Linked DNA regions of Homo sapiens: region 2 is linked to region 1. Evidence: promoter capture Hi-C in 16 types of primary human blood cells and fetal thymus (Javierre and others, 2016). All regions are on one chromosome and are shown on one strand. The core of a region is centred on a gene start or on the middle of the fragment in contact, and the rest is flanking DNA. Distances in the headings are between cores, read along the strand shown.

Region 1 (2,806 bases), core at 135-2,634:
ACTAGCAGCTTTGTAGTCCAAGGACTGGTAAGGTAAGGTGACAGACTAGCATGGAGCTCACAAGCTGGGCTCCAGAGTCAGACTGCCTGGGTTGAGTTCAGGCTCTTGCACTTTCTAGTAGTGTGACTTTAGACACACTACTTAATCTCTCTATGCCTTGGTTTCCTCAAGTGTAAATCAAGGGCTATCATAATACTTACCTTAAGAGCTATCCTCAGAATTAAATGAGATAACAGTACAAAGTTCATTCAGCATAGTGGTCCCACACAAGATAAGTTTGTATTATTAACATCACATAGACTAATATTTACTGACAACACACACTGAACCCGCTTTGGTTAGCATAGCCAAACTTGGCTAGCTTTCATTACCACTGGAAAACCTGAGAGATGGAATTAGGAATTCTCTGGCAGGGCTGAAAAGTCTGGACCCATCGGCTTAAAGAAACTGATCCACCTCATGACCTGACCCTGGAAGCCTTCTCGCCCTTCACACCTATCTCAACTCCAGACTAGTCAAGAACAAAGGAGTGTAGTGGGGCCCTACTACTGCCAGGCTATGTGAGACTCTCTCATGTTATCTTTTATTCGTTGAGGAGACAGGGTACAAGTGCTTGGTGTGAATGTTGAAGCTGTTGTTAGGGCACCACTTTTCTGGCCTAGGGCTTCTTCCTAATCTGCAGCCTCCGAGCCGAGGGTCTGTGTCCCGGAGGCTCTGCCTGCAATTTCTGGACATCGGGTCCAGGGGAATGAAAGAGGGCATGAGACGCATGCCTCTGAGGCTGGACCCACTTCAGAGGCAGAGCGTCCCCACGAAAGACTCGGGAACCGGAAAAAGCCCTAAGGACGTTCCCTAGTGGCCTTGACCTTGGTGGGTGAGACTCAGTTCGCCATCCTGCTGGCGGCGGGCGATGACACAGCCCCTCAGCCAGGACGAGTATGTGGGCTGAGCGCGAGACGGGGTCTCGGAGGACTGCTAACCCCACTACGGTGGCCTCCTCGGGGCCCCCGTTTCCTCTTGAGCGTGCGGGGGCCTCTGGCCCTACCCGGACACAGTGCACGCGGCGCACTGGCCTTCAGGAGCTGGGGCGGAGGCTGGCCCCGGAACCCCCGGCGGGAGGGTCTGGGCGGTGGGGACGCCTCCATCGGGCGGCTGGCGTGCACGTCGCCGGGGTCACGCGGCCTCCCCGACGGACCCGAGCCTCCCGTGGCGGGGGTGGGGCGGCCACCGCCAGCCCGGCCCTCCCGAACGACCGGGCTCGGCCTCAGCCCCCAGAGCGTCCAGCCGCTGGCCTCACCTCCCTGCGCACGTTCAGCAACGAGTAATAGTCTTCATTGTCCAGCTCCTCCTCGCTCAAGGCCGTCGCCATCTTCGCAACCTTTCACCCCGCCAAACCGGCAAGGCCGTGCTCAAGAGGGGCCAGTGATCCGCGTCAGGGACAGCGCGGGCCAGCCCGGCTGCGCCACAGCGGCCCCTGGCGGCCCGGAGCCGTCCGCGCCCGGCGGGAGTGCGCCTGCGCTTTGCGCCCCCGCGCGGCCTAGGGCGGGACGCGGCGCCTAGGCAGCCCTGGCGGGGTGACCACGCGGGTGTCTCTTCGTGCTCCCAATGGACGCGTGGCACGCGGCGTGGCTGCGTCCTCGGGGGCCTGAGATCCAGCCAGGACTCCCTAGGGCTTTTCCTGTACTAGAAAGGGAAACTTTGCTTTTTTTTTTTTTTTTTGAGACGGAGTCATACTCTGTCGCCCAGCCTGGTGTGTGTGCAGTGGCGCAATCCCGGCTCACTGAAGCCTCCACCTCCCGGGTTCAAGCGATTCTCCTGCCTCAGCCTCCCGAGTAGCTGGGACTCCAGGCGCGCGCCACCACGCCCAGTTAATTTTTTTGTATTTTTGGTAGAGACACGGTTTCACCATGTTGGCCAGGCTGGTCTGAGGCTCCTGAACTCAGGAGATCCTCGGCCTCCCAAAGTGCTGGGATTACAGGCATGAGCCACCGCGTCCTGCCTAGAAAGGGAAACTTTGAAGTCACCTCCAGGAGATTGTCATCCTCTGGGAGACAAACCCCTGTGATACCACCTGTTACCCCACTGGCCCCAAACTCCTGGAAGAAGCGCGAGGTGCCCCCAGTGCAGGGTGCATCCGGATCCTAGATATCCCCCAAATGACATTTGTTCCTACCTCCATTGTCTTTTCTCTTGGCCACCCAGAAGCCTTCCTGCCCAGAACAGGCCTCCTCATTTTAGTTATTTGTTATTGCTCTAATTTAGGAGCACCTGGCCATCTTTTCTGCTGCTTAAATGACAAAGCAATAACTATTTGGTTCCTGATATAATTGTCTCTGGCAGGCATGTGTACCTGCAGTCCCTACCCCAGAGCCATTCTCCTGTAAATTTCTCCCTTATAATTTATCGGTGGAGTCTAATTGATTTCAACCTGGTGCCTGCTGTTTGGTGCATTATTAAAGATGTCTTGGTTACAACAATCTAAATAATTTAAAGGTCTTCGAAATGACGCCATTGTCAAGGGAAGGTGGACAGCAGCCCACTCTTGCCACCTGTTTGGTTCCCGCTGACCTGCGCAAGTCTCAGAAACCTTTGTTGTTCCTTCACTAACCACCAGTCCATAGCCATCCCCGTTGCCCTTCATAAGCAGGTCTCCTGGGAAGCCCCGAACACCTGTCTGTGGATTTGAGAGGCTGATTTCTTTCTCTTTCTAATTTTTGGCCAGATGTGCACCATCTGGGCCTGTGTCTCATCCCTTCCAAGTTGCCCAGCCCTCTTAGGATCTTTTGGCATGAGACACTTCGGTGTG
Region 2 (2,895 bases), core at 73-2,572, 520 kb after region 1:
TCATCATTCATTCACTCAAGCACTTGATGGGTATTGCACTCTCCTACCTTGTGCCAGAGACTGTGTGAGACTCGGAGAGTTGGTAACACACCCAGAGTCTTGCCTTCGGGGGCTTTCACGAGCAGAGCCATTGCTCCGGCTTTTGGGTTTCCATAGTGTGCATTAGCCTTTGAAGGCCTCCAGGAAGTCCCTCCAGAATCAGACCTGTTCCATTGTGTTCACTGAGAATTCTGCAAATTTCTTTGGTGATGGGACTTGATTCTTCTTTATATGGTACCAGGCAGACCAGTGAATGCGTCGTGAAACACCTCTCCAGGCCCGTGGAATGGGGTGGGGAACGCTGGGGTCTCAGTGTGAGCCTGGCCTTTGGATTCAGACAGTGCTGAATTACAGTCTCAGCCCTGCTTCTTGCTGGCTGTGGGGCTGGGGCCACATGAACCGGCTAAGCTTTGGCTTTCTCAGAAATAGTTTGGGGATAATGATTCCTGCCTAGTGGGAAGATTAAATAAGATAAAGGAATGGCAAAGTTTTATCCCATGGTCAGGGAGGATGGTGACTGCCTTGTGCCATGGGTGACCCCTGCCTTCCTTCAGAGGGCATGTGCACAAGCTGGTGCATACACACACACACACACACACATACACACACACACACACACACAGGCTTCCTGTAGTCCTCGGTTGCCTGGGAGGCAGCAGTGACTCTGCCTTCTAGAAGTCGTCTGAACTGTCTGCTTTCCAAACAGGGGCGACAGGACTGTGACTCGAGGTGATGGGTTGCTGAACTGCTCTGCTGCCAGACACATTTTGCTGGCTTCTCATAATGTCACTGAGATCTGGGAAATGGACCAAGCACGATTTCCAGCTAAATGAAACACTTTGGGGCCATCAGCTAAATAGATGATGCTTTTGAGAAAACCCCATGAGCATTGTGTCAGACAGGCCGTGGGACCCTGCAAGCCTGTCTTTTTCTGTGCTCGTCTGGGTGATGAGACATCGCCCGGGCTGGTTCCATGAGCACCTCTGGCTGTGAGGACCTGCGTCTTCTGTCTCAATGCACCTGCGGGGAGGCTGAGATTTGATCCTCATGGAACATTCAATCCTTTCTGCATCTCGCTGTCTTCCTGCCCTCCTCTTTCTCCCTTCCTCTTGCCTGACTGTTGACTACAAAATAGGATATTATTTAGGAACGTGTCCTTGCCTCCCTCCCTGGCTCTACATCACCCCATGACATAGTGGCTGTGCTCAGGCGGAGAGTGAGTTATGTTTCTGTGGGCAGGAGTGGGTCATGAGTCCTGAGTCCTCCCTAGACAGCCCCAGCCCTTTCTCTTTGTTCCAAGGGGCCCAGCCACCATATTGATTGTTTCATCCCTCTGCACTGCCCAGAGCTGCCTCCTGGAGCACGCTCTCTTCTTTCCTGATGGCAACGGTCCCACCTGATGGCAATGGTCCCTGGGCCAGAGGATGCCCATTGGTCTTCATGGAGAGAGCTTGGGTCAGGCCCACTTGGTCTCCAATCCTGGCTTCGCCGCGTGCCAGCTCTGCAGTGGTGCCAGCTTATCCTGCTAAGCCTAGCTTCCTCTTCTACGTGGGTATATCTGCCTCAGGTGCAGCTGTGAGGATCCGGGGTGATGCTCATGAGGTGCCCGGCACCCTGTGTGGCACAGAAATGACCAGAAAATACCAACTCACCCAATGCCAAGTCTTCACTGTCCTTAAGATCTCAAACCTTTTTTTCTTGATCTTCTTCCCTTGATGACCAACGCTCTTGTTCCTCTCGCCCTTGCGGGCCACCCCCTCATACATCTTTCCTTGGGCCACAACTTAGGCCTTTGCCTTGCCTTTACTTACCTGTTGATCCACCCACCCACCCACCCACCCACCCATCCAACCATTCATTTCTTGCTTCATTCATCCAGTGATGTACTGAATGTTTCCTACATGTGTATGTCAGGCTAGGGTGAGCAAAGCAGATTCAGTGTCTCCCTACCCTAAACTTAGTGCAGGAGAGGATAGAGACAATGGAACAGGTGCATGTGCGTGTGAGTATGTGTATGTGTGATTGTGTGCGTATGTGTGTGAGTGTATGCATGCGTGTGTGTATGTGTGTGTGAGTGTGTGATGGGAGGTAGGTGCTAACAGGGAGAGTCTTGAGAAATGGATACTAGGGTCACCTAACAGGGTCCTGAGGGGTCAGGAAAGCTTCATAGAGGAAGTGACTCTTACCTCCTTGAGCAGATATAAGCAACCTGAGGCCAGGGGTTGTGCTTTCTAGGGCCTCAGAACACCAGCATCGTCAACAGGTGAGTGCCTGCCATTTATATGAGGCCCTGGGTTTGCAAAGAGGGATGAATATGCAACATAAATAGTAATGCAAAGGGACAGTTAATAAATACTTGTCCGATGAATTCATGGATGCATGTGCCATTGCCAGGCTTATATTTGCTAAGCAATCTTCCCAGCATGTGTTAAATCTCTGACTCACCATGAATAAGGAGCTTAGAAGAGCTCATTTGAGTTTCCACGTGGTTCATGAATATGCAAGCGAGATTCCTTTTAATCTCAAATTTTATTTTATTAGATGTATTTACATGTATTTATTAGTTCTCAGGTTTACCTTGGGGCCTATGGGATATTTAACGAAGGTATCATCCCATCTTCACTGCAGTTGTTAGAGGGCGGGGTGGAAGATTGCTGAATAACTCGATCACCCCAGATGACCAGAGATCTTCTGGGTGTGTAATGACCACAGACTAATCTTAATCATAATCACTACCATGAACCCACATGACATGCAGTTGTATAAAGGATGGGGCACCTTAACGTTTGTAGCACCTTTACATAAAGCCAGAGTGCTCAAGCCATCCTGGACCTCACCCGATGGGAGGGAGAATGA

What was found. Contacts are between HindIII fragments. The CHiCAGO score rates a contact against its expected background, and 5 or more counts as called.
Region 2: a contact is called between a fragment that was not itself captured here and the fragment with the promoter of DNAJC11 in region 1, in 1 of 17 cell types (megakaryocytes). The highest score is 7.0, in megakaryocytes.

Annotation. Positions count from the first base shown.
Region 1 is chr1:6,700,432-6,703,237 of GRCh38, forward strand. It overlaps DNAJC11 (DnaJ heat shock protein family (Hsp40) member C11), which reads right to left and starts at 1,385. Exons shown (of 16, transcript NM_018198.4): 1 at 1,298-1,385. The coding sequence starts at 1,369. RefSeq lists a silencer at 1,172-1,621. The HindIII fragment of the contact is 16,969 bases long and covers 1-2,806 here.
Region 2 is chr1:7,221,289-7,224,183 of GRCh38, forward strand. The region is part of intron 4 of CAMTA1 (calmodulin binding transcription activator 1); the gene reads left to right. Among named protein-coding and RNA genes, the nearest start is that of CAMTA1-IT1, 140 kb to the right of the region's middle. The HindIII fragment of the contact is 1,754 bases long and covers 446-2,199 here.